Linked DNA regions of Homo sapiens: region 2 is linked to region 1. Evidence: promoter capture Hi-C in human tissues and cell types (Jung and others, 2019). All regions are on one chromosome and are shown on one strand. The core of a region is centred on a gene start or on the middle of the fragment in contact, and the rest is flanking DNA. Distances in the headings are between cores, read along the strand shown.

What was found. Contacts are between HindIII fragments. The study calls those that stand out against the background at their distance.
Region 2: a contact is called between a fragment that was not itself captured here and the fragment with the promoter of ZNF90 in region 1, in 2 of the 25 tissues and cell types used here (hippocampus and mesendoderm cells).

What each region holds. Positions count from the first base shown.
Region 1 is chr19:20,072,021-20,079,347 of GRCh38, reverse strand. It overlaps ZNF90 (zinc finger protein 90), which reads right to left and starts at 1,348. Exons shown (of 4, transcript NM_007138.2): 1 at 1,213-1,348. The coding sequence starts at 1,215. RefSeq lists an enhancer at 926-1,405. The HindIII fragment of the contact is 4,387 bases long and covers 354-4,740 here.
Region 2 is chr19:20,002,773-20,010,099 of GRCh38, reverse strand. It overlaps ZNF682 (zinc finger protein 682), which reads left to right. Exons shown (of 4, transcript NM_033196.3): 4 at 2,825-5,682. The coding sequence ends at 4,095. It also overlaps the pseudogene BNIP3P12. Among named protein-coding and RNA genes, the nearest start is that of ZNF682, 33 kb to the left of the region's middle. The HindIII fragment of the contact is 3,190 bases long and covers 2,969-6,158 here.

The sequences.
Region 1 (7,327 bases), core at 99-2,598:
CATCTGCCTGGACAAACTCCATCTCAAAAAAAAAAAAAAAACCCTCCTTTTGCAGGCTTAATATTAGCCTTAGCTCGGAATCACTAGGTTCAAGCTTTAATTTCCATGCCAGAGTTATTCACTGGGTTTTTGAAACTAAGTGTTGGAAAATACAGTGAAGTTACTAAAACACAGTGTTTACATAAAGGATGGAAATTTTAAGATGCTTACTTTTTTTTTTTTTTTTTTTTTTGAGGACTCTCCCTCTGTCGCGCATGCTGGAGCGCGATGGAGGGATCTCAGCTCACTGCAACCTCTGCCTCCCGAGTTCAAGCAATTCTCGGGCCTCAGCCTCCCAAGTTGCTGGGATTACAGGCGCTTGGCACCACTCCAGGCTAATTTTTGTATTTTTAGTAGAGAGAGGTTTCACCACGTTGGATAGGCTGGTCTAGAAATTTGACCACGTGATCCGCCCGCCTCGGCGCCCCAAAGTGCTGAAATTACAGGCAGGAGCCACCGCGCCTGGCCGGGAAGGGGTTATTAGCCCTAATGCAGTTCTGTTTTTGTTTTCCCTCCATTGGCTGGGGTCAGACCGCACAATCTAAGCTGATCCCGGTTGGCTTACACTCAAGCTTTTTCCAAATCGGGTAATGCGCGATTTGTGAGAAAAGGAGAAGGGAGAAGAAGGGGTAGGGGTGATTTACAACTTTTCCAACTTATGACCAGGAAGTTGCGTCTTTGAAGAAGAACTACGTTGTACTAACAACCCTTTACCTCAAGTGATCCGCTCGCCTCGACCTCCCAAAATGCTGGGATTACAGGCATGAACCACAGCGACCGGCCCCATAAGTTTTTAATAGGAGAAAAGAGAAACTGTCAACCCCATGGACCAAAGCTCTTCCCATTCATGAACCTGCACCCCGAGTCAGGATTCTCCCCCGAGAACCCTCCCGTGCTCCCTGCACAATCTGGGAGAGACGCAGCGCTGTGGGTGCAGAGCTGCCCAGAGAGGGCTCCAGGCCAGGGCAGGGAAGAGACAGGACGCCGCGGGGCCCGGCTGTCGGCGCTGTTGCCATCTTATGGCTGAAGGGGACTGAGGCCGAACTGGGCAAGGAGAAGTCGGTCGCAGATTGTGGAGCTGACTGCGGGGAGGCCTAAGTCCCGCCACAGCCACTTCCCATCGGTTCCAACCAGTCCCTCCCCTCTCTCGGAATGCTGGAAAGGCACTCTCACCATTTCTAGGCTTCCGGGGGTCCCTCAGCTGTGGATCTCCCAATACCTGCAGGTCACAGGGCCACAGAGGCTGGAGAAGAAGACACGAAGCAGCTAAGACCAGATTTGGAGCACCAGCTGCAGCAAGAGACAAATGGCCGCGCCAAACCCGAAAGCCTTCCTCTTCGCTCCAGCTGCCTGCATGATTGGACGGTTTCCAACCCAGCGTCCCTGATTGGATAATGCTTAAGGCCCCGCCTCCTCAGTCCCTGAGTGACAGAAGATGTGATCACATGCTGGGCTGAGTGAAGAAAGAGTCACAGCCTCAGCTGCAGCCTTTTCAGGCCGGGCTTCCTCCTTGAGCTGAGCCAGGCCCACCGGAGAGCATGGGAAAATTCTTTTTTACTCTTTCTCTTTTTGAATGTATTCAAAAGGTGAACAGAAGTATTTGGCTGTCATATTAATAATACAAAAAATTTTTGTTCAAGAGAAAACTTTTACTTTGGTAATAGTGTATTATCAATACGAAAGCTAATTTTAATAAAACCTTGTAAGTAAATCAAATTTGTCATTTTTGACCTCTCGAGACTTACATATACATCATATATATTTTGTAATCTAATGTAATTTTTTTAACTTTTTATATTTTATTTTTATCTACATTCTTTTTATTTTTTCAATTTGAAACAACTTTTAAGTAATTTCAAACTGTTATAGGAGACAGAAAGGAAATCATTTAGGGCCAGGCGCGGTGGCTCACGCCTGTAATTCCAGCACTTTGGGAAGCCAAAGAGGGCGAATCACTTGAGGTCAGGAGTTCAAGACCACCCTGGCCAACACGGTGAAACCCCATTTCTACTAAAAATACAAAACCTTACCTGGGCGTGCTGGTGCACACCTGTAGTCCCAGCTACACCGAAGGCTGAGGCAGGAGAATCTCTTGAACCTAGGAGGTGGAGGTTGTGTAACCGCCCAAGGAGTTTACCTTGCCCTTTGCCCAGACAAAACCAATTCATCAAGACAGGGGAATTTGTGGAGGAAAAGTTAAATATTTAATTTGAACTCAATTGAACGTGGACACAAACAATGGTCACCAAGTCCTGGAAGAGGTTGTGTGAGCCCCTTGAGGCGTTCATCCAGTGCTATTTTAGAGAAATCTCTATGTCAATCTATTCAATCTATTCCTATACATTCGTTATTGAAAAACAATAGACAAGGCCGGGCGCGGTGGCTCACGCCTGTAATCTCAGCACTTTGGGAGGCTGAGGCGGGCGGGTCACGAGGTCAGGAGATCAAGACCATGCTGGCTAACACGCTGAAACCCCGTCTCTACTAGAAATACAAAAAATTAGCCAGGCCTGGTGGCAGGCGCCTGTAGTCCCAGCTAGTCGGGAAGCTGAGGCAGGAGAATGGTGTGAACCTGGGAGGCGGAACTTGGAGTGAGCCGAGATCGCGCCACTGCACTCCAGCCTGGGCGACAGAGCGAGACTCCGTCTCAAAAAAAAAAAAAAAAAAGAAAGAAAGAAAAAGAAAAACAATAGACAATCACAAAAACAAGTTGACCTTTCTGTGTTCCTTGAGACCAGTCATGAAGGGCCCTGGTGACTAGGCCTCATGCTGAACAACTCGTTACAAAAAGAGCTAGGTTCCCAGACCGCGCAGAAGCGTCATTATACCTCTCCTGGTCTGTGCACCGATGGGTGGCCAACTCTGGAGCCCATCCTGTTGCTTTCCGGTCTGGTGGTGAATCCTCCATAGTCTGGTGTGGAGTCAAAGTTAAATAATAAATTTGTGCTAATTGAACGTGGACACAAACAATGGTCACCAAGTCCGGGAACAGGTTGTGTGAGCCCCTAGAGGCGTTCATCCAGCGCTGTTTCAGAGAAATCTGTATTTCAATCTATTCCTATACATTCGTTCTTGAAAAACAACAGACAATCCCAAAAACAAGTGACCTTTTTGTGTTTCTTCAGCTCAGTCGCGAAGGGTCCTCATGACTAAGCCTCGTGCCAAACAACTCATTACAAAAGAGCTAGGGTCCCAGACTGCGCCAAAGCTTCGTGACAGCTCTCCTCACCTGTGCACAATTGTTAGCTTGCTATTGGACTTTACTGGAAACAAAACACCTCTGCTTTAACCATGATGTCTTTATGAGGCCTAAATTTCCTGTTATGATTTAGGTCACGAGTTCCCTCAAAATCCACAGGAGGCCAAGATGTGTGGATCACGAGGTCAGAAGTTTGAGACCAGGCTGGCCAACATGATGAAACCCCATCTCTACTAAAAATACAAAAACTAGCCAGGTGTGGTGGCATGCATCTATAATCCCAGCTACTCAGGGGGCTGAGGCAGGAGAATCACTGGAATCCCAGGAGGCAGAGGTTGCAATGAGCTGAGGTCTCACCACTGCACTCCAGCCTATGTGACAGACTGAGACTCCATCTCAAAAACAAACAACCGAAAAACATAACCATTTCTGATGAAGAAAGGGGTGGGAGCAGCCAGTTAACTGAACTAGTAGACATCCTCTGAGCTCTTCGAAAGGAAGGAAGAAGGATTTGTCACTTGTATACCAACTCTTGCTCAGTAGCAAATGGTCTTACTACCTGGATGCCCCAATGACAACAAAACAAATGGTTAATTGGGAATAAAGAGGTATGGGGAAAACAATACTGGGAAGATACATGAATTCTGGTACACACTACCATTATCATTGTTTTCCTGTATTAATTAATTTATTTTTTTTGACACGGAGTCTAGCTCTGTCACCAGGCTGGAGTACAGTGGCTCAGTCTCGGGTCACCAGGCTTGAGTGCAGTGGCTGAGTCTCAGCTCACTGCAACCTCTGCCTCCCAGGTTCAAGTGATTCTCCTGCCTCAGCCTCCCGAGTAGCTGGGATTACAGGCATGCACCGCCACGCCCAGCTAATTTTTGTACTTCTCTAGTAGAGGCGGGGTTTCACTGTGTTCACCAGGGTGGTCTCAATCTCCTGACCTCGTGAACAACCCACCTCAGCCTCCCAAATTGGTAGAAGTACAGGCTTGGGCCACCACTCCTGGATCTGTTTTCCATGATGATGCTCATGCATCTCTGCTTTTCTTGACAGACTATTTAATCAGCAGGAAGATCGACAGGCCAAAATTTCCACCATAAATGCAAATTTGAATGTGGATGAATGGATTACAATGTGTTCAAGCCTTGCAATGAGAGGCATTATAGTGTTTGGTGGTATAATTGATGGTGATTACTGGGGAGAGTTAAAGGTTGTTTTATACAATACCACTCCAGATTCTTTTGCTATAAAACCACAAATGTGGGTTGCTCAATTATTAGTGGTACCTTGTCAACAATTAACCCCTGAGGAAATCTCTGTCCCAACAGAGGCTACATACAGAACTCGGGGATTCAGATCCACTGGTTCATGTAGCTTAAATCCTGGAGCCAATATATGGGTACAGCATCCATCAGATCCCACCCCTAAGTCTGGTGACCTTGTAGCTGTGAAAACAGAAAATGAAGGCATAGTACAATTTCCTAAAGATGAAAAACAATATGATGTTCCTATCCTTTTTTGTTATTACAGGGAATAATCTATCTACTAATGGTCAGCACCTGTGTCTTTGTGTCTGAGGCCAAGAATAAATTCATGAACTGGGTAGCCACCGCTGCAATAGAAGCCAATCACAGACAATGTTTTCTATACGTCGAGTTGCCAAAGGCCGCCAGGAATGGGCTACCTTGGAGAATCATCCTGACAACATTTCTGAATGGCTATGTAGTTACCAACGGGGTCACAACAACACTTGTAGTCCAACCTGTACTTCCTTTGACCACACTAAGCAATCTATCTTTGCCCAAGTCAGACAAAAGGTGAACTCCACATTCTCCTTTCATCAAAAGCCTTGGTATCCTGCCCAATATTCCTGGAATGGTATATTTTGGAAACCAGCTGTGCTGGTGCCTGGATTCCCTATAGCCCCCGCTTAGTCTGGAGGCCTTAAAAGGTTCCTCTAATATTACTCTGGGGTTTCTCCAGACAATTGTCAACACATACTCCAAATCAACATTGCCCCCAGTGAACCACAATCTCTTTCCTACTTTAATAATACATGAGTACACTGTGATTACAGTAGCTCCATTGCTGTCCCCTGGGGGAGCCCTCTGGGTATGCAGATCCTATGAGTGGTGATACCTGTCCCCACACTGGACAGGGAGATGAACTTGGGGATAGCCATTAATTCCATTCACCATCCGGGTTAATATTCCTCTCCCAAGTAATTTAGATACTTACAAACATCACTGGTTATGAATGTGCCAGCCTCCCTGGCCTCCCTGGTGGCAGTACCCTATCACAGTATTCTCCCCTGCCACTGGTACAATCCTGCTTCAGCAACAAACTAAAATATTAAGGTTATATGTAGAAAAAGCTCTTAATGATATTAGCACTAGACTTATGTTGTTACCAGATAAATTTGCTCAGCTGAGTACTGTTGTGTTGCAAAATCAAATGGCATTAGATATGCTTACCGCAGCCCAAGGAGGGATTTGTGCCATATTGCATGCTAAATGTGGTGTGTATATCCCTGGCAATTCTCACAATATGACTCTCCTTAGAAAGCCATGCTGGGTGTGGTTTTTATTAATTGTGCTTTTAATTCTCCTGTCCTTACCCTGTATCTGTAATCTATATCGACTATGCCTTCCCTATGTATCTGTAAGGGTATTTTCCTACAATTGAGTATCCAATTGAGGCCAAAGGTGGAGAAAAAGTTAAATTTGAATTGAATTGAATGTGGACACAAACGATGGTCACCAAGCCTGAGAATAGGTTCTGCGAGCCCCTTGATGCATTCATCTAGAGTTGTTTCAGAGAAATCTCGATTTCAATCTATTCCTTTATATTGTTATTGAAAAACAATAGCCAATTGCAAAAACAAGTTAACTTTTTGTGTTCCTTGAGCCCAGTCTCAAGGGCCCTCCACTGTGCCTCATGCCAAACAACTTGTTACAAAATGACCTAGAGCCCCAGAACGCACTAAAGCTTAAAGAGACCTCTCCTTGTCCTTGCATGGATGGGTGGCTGACTCTGGAGCCCAGGTTGTTGCATTCCGGTGTGGCGATGAATCCTCCATAGTCTGGTGAGTGTATATATATGTACATATATTTATGTGTGTATGTATATATATATTTATATGTGTGTATATATATATATTTATGTGTGTGTGTGTGTATATATATATATCTTTTTCCTTCTCCCCTTTCCATTGCAATTTTCTTATATCAATTTACTTGGCCGGGCGCGGTGGCTCACGCTTGTAATCCCAGCACTTTGGGAGGCCAACGCGGTCGGATCAGGAGGTCAGGAGATCGAGACCACGGTGAAACCCCGTCTCTACTAAAAATACAAAAAATCAGCCGGGCATGGTGGCACGTGCCTGTGGTCCCAGCTACTCAGAACGTTGAGGCAGGAGAATGGCGTGAACCCGGGAGGTGGAGCTTGCAGTGAGCCGAGATCGCGCCACTGCACTCCAGCCTGGGTGACAGAGTGAGACTCCGTCTCAAAAAAAAAAAAAAAATTTACTTATATCTGCATTGCCATTTATGTGGGATAAAGCTTGTTTACCCTTAAAGGTATTGTGTAGGTGTCTTTTCTTCTACCCTCATGTGTTTCCTTCACAGAACACCATATTTGTCAGAGGCTTTCTTTGTTCCTTTTTATTCTTTTTTCTTTAATCTTGTCTGCATGCCTTATTTTGACAAGGTGGTCTTCAAATACTGATATTCTTTCTTCTGCTTGGTCAGTTCGGCTACTGATACTTTTGTATGCTTCATGAAGTTCTCGTGCTGTGTTTTTCAGCTCCATCAGATCATTTATGTTCCTCTCCAAACTTGTTATTATAGTTAGCAGTTCCTCTAACCTTTTTTTTTTTTTTTTTTTTTGAGACGGAGTCTTGCTCTTTCGCCCAGTCTGGAGTGCAGTGGCGTGATCTCAGCTCACTGCAAGCTCCGCCTCCCGGGTTCACGCCATTCTCCTGCCTCTGCCTCCCGAGTAGCTGGGACTACAGGCTCCCGCCACCATGCCTGGCTAATTTTTTTTGTATTTTTTAGTAGTGACGGGGTTTCACCTTGTTAGCCA
Region 2 (7,327 bases), core at 3,314-5,813, 72 kb after region 1:
TATGAAACTTAGTTTGCTGGAACATAAAATTCCTGATTGGAATTTCTTTTTTTTTTTTAATCTCTTTTTTTGTTGTTGTTGAGATGGAGTCTCGCTCTGTGGCCCAGCCTGGAGTGCAGTGGTGCAATCTCAGCTCACTGCAACCTCTGCCTCCAGGGCTCAAGCAATTCTCGTGCCTCAGCCTCCTGAGTAGCTAGGACTACAGGTGCACGCTACCATGCCAGGCTAATGTTTTGTATTTAATAGAGGCAGGCTTTCACCATGATGCCCAGGGTGGTCTTGAACTCCTGAACTCAGGTGATCTGCCCACCTTGGCCTCCCAAAAAGCTCGGATTACAGACGTGAGCCACTGCACCTGGCCTCTTTCTTTAAAAATGTTAAAAACAGGCCCCTAATATCTTCCAGATTGTAAGGTTTCTGTGGGGAGGTCCACTGTTTGATAGAATTCATTTTTTAGGTAATATGGCCCTTTTCTCTAGTTGCCTTTTATTTTTGTATTTCATGTTGACCTTGGAAAGTCTGAATACTATGTGCCTTGAGGATGGTTGTCTTGTATAGTATCTCAAAGGAGTTCCTTGAATTTCTTGTATCTCTGTGTCAACCTCTCTAGCAAGATGGGAAAATTTTTCGTAGATTATATCCTTACGTATGTTTTCCAAGTTGGTTACTTTTTTTCCTTCTCTCTCAGGAATACTAATGAGTCATAAGTTTGACCCCTTTACATAATTCCATATTTCTCAGAAGCTTTGTTTTTTTGTAGTGAATTCTTTTTTCTTTACTATCTTCTGACTGGGTTGATATAAAGGAGCAGTCTCTGAGCTCTGAAATACTTTCATCTGCTTAGTCTATTCTGTTTTTAAGGCTTTCAATTGTATTTTGAAAGTCCTGTAGTAAAATTTTCAACTTTTAAAGTTGTGTTTGGTTCTTTCAAAGGAACTAGTGAGATCCTTTTGAGGTAACGAAACACTCTGGCTTTCTGTATTGCCAGCTTTCTTTCGCTTTCACATCTGAGGGAGCTGGTGCTTCTTTTCCTTTTGAATTTTCTGTCATTTGGATGGGGTGTTAAAATTTTTTTATTTCTTTTTTTCCTTGAGGGTTTGGCTGTGGTGTATGTTGTGTATAATCAGTTGGTGTCATTTAAGGTTGTTTTCAGAGGGCAGAGGTTCTGTCTAGGTCCCTTGGTTGTAGATAAGTTCCTGCAGTGGATTTCATAGAGTGCTTCATGTTGAAGCAATGTATTCTTGTTTGGTGGTGTAATTCAGGCTTCAGTCCAAGTAGATGGCACTTAAGAGTGCTCTGGGGAGGGAAGATAGTGTGTGAGAGATTATTTTCTTTCCAAATTTATTTTGGGGCCTTGGTGATATTCCCTTCAACTGCTGGCACTGCACCCAATTCCTTTGCTCCAAGGAGGGCTTTGGTGGTCTGTGCTTACCCTTCCTTAGGGACAGTTCACACTTTTAGGTCACCAGGAGACCCATATTTATCAGGGGTCCTGCTGTTCTCCTTTGCTTGCAAAAGTAAGGATGGGTTATGGAATGTGTCTGTGAGTCGTTTGGTGATGCCATGGCTCGAGGATGGAACACCAGGCAGGGCAATTGCACCATGGGTTTGCAACCAGTATTGCACCTGCAGCCCAGGATTTTTAGTCCAGCAGGTAGTTGTGGGGCCCACCCAGCTTGTGGTCCCCCAACTCAGCAGGTCTGTCTCCAGTGTCTTCCCTGGGAGCAGGCTGAATTGGCTAGGCTTGTCCCAAGCCATCTGCATTGAAATTGCTGAGTTCTTCCAGATGTTCTATGCTGCTAGGCTTCCTGGGATGGAAACCATGACTGGTCATCTGGCCACACCCTTCCCAGTTTATTCATGTGAATGAAGGGGAACTCAGCTCCCATGCTGGCTCATGATCCCATGACTTCTCTGTGTGCTGACAGTGTGGGCTTCTACCCCACTTAAGCTCAGACCACATATATCAGCTTGATATTATCAGGCAGTGTGCTGAAGACCTGGGCAGTTGGCACTGGGCCCATGGATTTGTCCTCTGGCCCTTTGGGGTCAAGCACCATCTGTGATATAAGTGGATGCCATGCTGTGGGCACCCTTCTGCAGGACCAGCCAGGTAGGTCATCTTGGACGGTGCCAGCAGGCAAAGTGGTGCATGGATCAGATTCACCTCAGTCCCATGATAGCTACAACCTTGCTCTCTCTCAGCCTGGCAGACAGCAGCAGATGGATCCCCTCAGTGCAAGATGCAGAGCCTCGGAGGATGGGCACCTATGGTCAGCTACAGCTGCACAGCACAGTGAAAACTGCAGATTTCCACAAGAGTTTAAGCTGTGCCTCTGCCTATTCTCCAGGTGGCTCCCCCTGCCAGTTCACAGATGTATAGGGATCATATGAGAGTCTATAATCAGGAGCTCAGACTAGATTTAGCTGGGAAATGCCTTTCAAGGAGAAGGAACCAAAGTGAGAATCTCAGAGGTCCATGGCTAGACTGTGTTGCCCTGGGGTTTCTTCACATATCCCTTCCATAAGACTGGTCTGGATCTACGAGCCAGTCCTGGTGCCCAGTGACTTTGAGCAAGCTTCCCATCTTCCTCTTCAACCACAGTTTCTGCATTACCTCTGAATTAAGCTTTTTCTCAAAAGATCTGTTTAAAGTATGATGTTTTACTCAACATTTTGTTTTCTCTCCTTGGAGTGAGTGTTTCCCAGCTGCATCTAGTAAGTCATCCTGTCCTTTTCTTAATTTTCTGTATTAGATTTGTAAAGTATATGTATCTGAGTCTGAAAATAACAAGTGGGATATTTTGTTAATTTCATATTTCAGCTATGTCTTCTCATTACACTGAAGACCTTTTGCCAGAACAGTGCATGCAAGATTCATTCCAAAAAGTGATACTGAGAAGATATGGAAGCTGTGGACTTGAGGATTTACACTTAAGGAAGGATGGGGAAAATGTGGGTGAGTGTAAGGATCAAAAAGAAATTTATAATGGACTTAACCAATGTTTGTCAACTCTACCTAGCAAAATTTTCCCATATAATAAATGTGTGAAAGTCTTTAGTAAATCATCAAATCTAAATAGAGAAAACATAAGACATACTACAGAGAAACTTTTCAAATGTATGCAATGTGGCAAAGTCTTTAAATCTCACTCAGGCCTTTCTTATCATAAGATAATTCACACTGAAGAGAAACTCTGCATATGTGAGGAATGTGGCAAAACCTTTAAGTGGTTCTCATACCTTACTAAACATAAGAGAATTCACACTGGAGAGAAACCATACAAATGTGAAGAATGTGGCAAAGCTTTTAACTGGTGCTCGAGTCTTACTAAACATAAGAGAATCCATACTGGTGAGAAACCCTACAAATGTGAAGAATGTGGAAAAGCCTTTCACTGGTGTTCACCCTTTGTTAGACATAAGAAAATTCATACAGGAGAAAAACCCTATACATGTGAAGACTGTGGCAGAGCGTTTAACCGGCACTCACATCTCACCAAACATAAGACAATTCACACTGGAAAGAAACCCTACAAATGTAAAGAATGTGGGAAAGCCTTTAACCACTGCTCACTACTTACTATACATGAGAGAACCCATACGGGAGAGAAACCCTATAAATGTGAAGAATGTGGCAAAGCTTTTAACTCATCATCAATTCTTACTGAACATAAGGTAATTCATAGCGGAGAGAAACCCTACAAATGTGAAAAATGTGACAAAGTCTTTAAGAGGTTCTCATACCTTACTAAACACAAGAGAATTCACACTGGAGAGAAACCCTACAAATGTGAAGAATGTGGCAAAGCTTTTAACTGGTCCTCAATCCTTACTGAACATAAGAGAATTCATACTGGAGAGAAACCCTACAACTGTGAAGAATGTGGAAAAGCCTTTAATCGGTGCTCACACCTTACTAGACATAAGAAAATTCATACTGCCGTCAAACGCTATAAATGTGAAGAATGTGGCAAAGCTTTTAAACGGTGCTCACATCTTAATGAACATAAGAGAGTTCAAAGAGGAGAGAAATCCTGCAAGTATAAAAAATGTGGGGAAGCTTTTAATCACTGCTCAAACCTTACTACGTAAGAATTTTTACTAAAGAGAAATCCTACAAATGTAAAGAATGTGGCAAATTCCATAAATCTTGCTCAAGGCATTGAAATCACAAGATAATTCATACTGGAGAGAAACACTACAAATGTGAAGAATGTGGGGAAAGTCTTCAACCATTGCTGACAGCTTATTGCACAGAAGAAAATTCATGCTGAGAAAAATTCTGATTTTAAAGAATGTGGCAAAGCATTTAATAACTACTATGAACTTACTCATCAGAGGTTTTGTGCTAGATAAAAGCAATGTAAGTGTAATGATACACATTACATTTATCTGTGGAAAGATGTCACCAAATAAAAGCCTTAGAGTACACAAGGTGTAATGATAGTGATACATTACATTTGTACATGGAAAGACTTCAAAAATATAAGCCTTAGAGTACACAAGAGTTTTTATACTGAAGAAAAACATTACAAATATAAAGATTGTTGCAATACTTTTACTTATGTTACAGATTTTGTTGTACATAGGAGAATTTATACTGAAAGGTAACCCTCTAACAGTTGCTCAAATTTTATTCCATTTTAGATAATTTACATTGGAAAGAAACCCTACAACTGTAATGAATATGAAAAAAATTGTTTAAAAAGTACACCTTAGAAAACACTAGTTTAAGGCCGGGCGCGGTGGCTCACACTTATAATCCCAGCACTTTGGGAGGCCGAGGCAGGCGGATCACGAGGTCAGGAGATCGAGACCACGATGAAACCCTGTCTCTACTAAAAATACAAAAAATTAGCTGGGCATGTTGTCGGGTGCCTGTAGTCCCAGCTACTGGGAGAGGCTGAGGCAGGAGAATGGCGTGAACCCGAGAGGCGGAGCTTGCAGTGAGCCGAGATCGCGCCACTGAACTCCAACCTGGGCGACAGAGACTCTGTCTCAAAAAAAAAGAAAGAACGCTAGTTTATATGAAAGCATTTAACAGATGCAGTAAATATAAAAAATTAATAAAAAATTAAGTCTAAATGAACATCAGAAGATTCACAGTAGAAACCACTAAGACGCTAACACTTTCAATGTTATTCTAAATCAGGGCATTGATTATAAAGAGTAATTCAAGGTTAACATAATTTAGTTAGCCTAAACAGAAATAGGAGATTAATATTTTGAGACTTAAACAATTATATTCAAAGTACACTTTTTGCATTGAAAGAATTTTAGATTTTTACAAAGGCAAATTTTGATGTAATTGAACTCTCAAATTACTTGATGCTGTGTCTTTATTCCTAGTGTCTGTATGAAAGCATGTGGTCAATTTCTGCTGCTCGGGGTTTGAGAAGTTCTATATTAGGATGTCATTTACATACTTTTCAACAGAAGATTGAGGACACTGAAATATGAGGTGTGTGAAGAAAGTACACAGAGAAACTTTTGTGGTTGACTTATAAAACTTGTAAGTGCTGCATGAGATAGATGTTCAGAGTAATAGTCTTGTGCATTATTCAAATTTTAGTAAATTGTTTTACCAATTGCACATTAGATAGTATAGTGGATTTTGTAATGCTTTTCTTAGACTGTGTGAACTTAGTTTCAATAAAACAATTATTTTTAATGTGTTAAGACAGTTGTGCATTGAATTAGGTGTTATCCTGCCACCAACATTAACCTATTTTACCTTACTCAAGTCTCTAGGTAACAGACGGTAACAACATACTATTCAGTAATATAGTGGAATGGCATCTCTAGTGATTCTTATCCTTAGTGACTTTAAACTTCAAATACGTTGGAGAATATTGTTTCCATAGGTTACATTTTTATTATTTTTCTTCTAATTATAGAGTCATTAAGATGATTATTATGAAAATTACACAGGCATATAATCAAAAGCCATATATTTCTGAATCTTAAGTGAGTATGTAGAAGATGTTATCTCACATTTTTCTTTGAACATGCAACCTCTGTGGCCTTCCAGACACACATAGACTCTTTAAGTTTTCACTTACATGAAAGTTTAATATACAAATATGTTACTCTAAAGATAAAGTGTAAGGGAATTATGAAGCAAGTAATTGTATTTGAATGTGGATGTGTACCTATTTTGAGAAGAAAGAAAATATGTTAGAACAAACTGGTAATTTTTAAAGTGTTGATAAGTTACTACCAAACTGGAAACCTCAAACAATTTCAAAGCAAATCTATTTTTCCCATTTGTATTGAATTCATTTTTTCAAAATCTTGTGGTTCCTAGTTCAGAATCTCCTTAAGTAAATCTAGGTTTTACTTGCCTGGTATTGATAGTAGACCTAATGCATAATTTTCTTTTTTTTTTTTTTGAGACGGAGTCTTGCTCTGTCACCCAGGCTGGAGTGCAGTGGTGCAATCTCTGCTCACTGCAAGCTCCACCTCCCAGGTTCACGCCATTCTCCTGCCTCAGCCTCCCCAGTAGCTGGGACTACAGGTGCCCACCACCACGCCCAGCTAATTTTTTTGTATTTTTAGTAGAGACGGGGTTTCACCATGTTAGCCTGGATGGTCTCGATCTCCTGACCTTGTGATCCACCCGCCTCAGCCTCCCAAAGTGCTAGGATTACAGGCATGAGCCACCATGCCCGGCCAGTTTTCTTGTTCCAAAGTTTATAAAGTATTCTTTATATAATCTGCTCGGGAATTATTGGAATAATTTTTACAAAATTTAATGGTGCTTGCAAAATAATTTGAACATGTAATTTCATAGTAAATATGTTGTAACATTTTATTTAGTACATTTTTTTTCAATTGGAGAACTCTAAGCCAATCTTTCCTTTGTTGCTCTTTTAATTTTTTTTTTTTTTTTTTTTTTTTTTTTTTGAGACGGAGTCTTGCTCTGTCGCCCACGCTGGAGTGCAGTGGTGCGATCTCGGCTCACTGCAAGCTCCGCCTCCCGGGTGCACGCCATTCTCCTGCCTCAGCCTCCCGAGTAGCTGGGACTACAGGCGCCCACCACCACGCCCGGCTCATTCTTTTGTATTTTTAGTAGAGACGGGGTTTCACCGTGTTAGCCAGGATGGTCTCCATTTCCTGACCTCGTGATCCGCCCGCCTCAGCCTCCCAAAGTGCTGGGATTACAGGCGTGAGCCATTGCGCCTGGCCTTGTTGTTCTTTTAATTTTTATAATTAACATTGAGTTTATTGATCTTATTGGGTTAATTTCTTTAGGTGAACACTAGGGAGATGTCATCAGTCATGGTAGTGTTTGTTTCTTTTTTTATCAACTCTTACGTCTCTA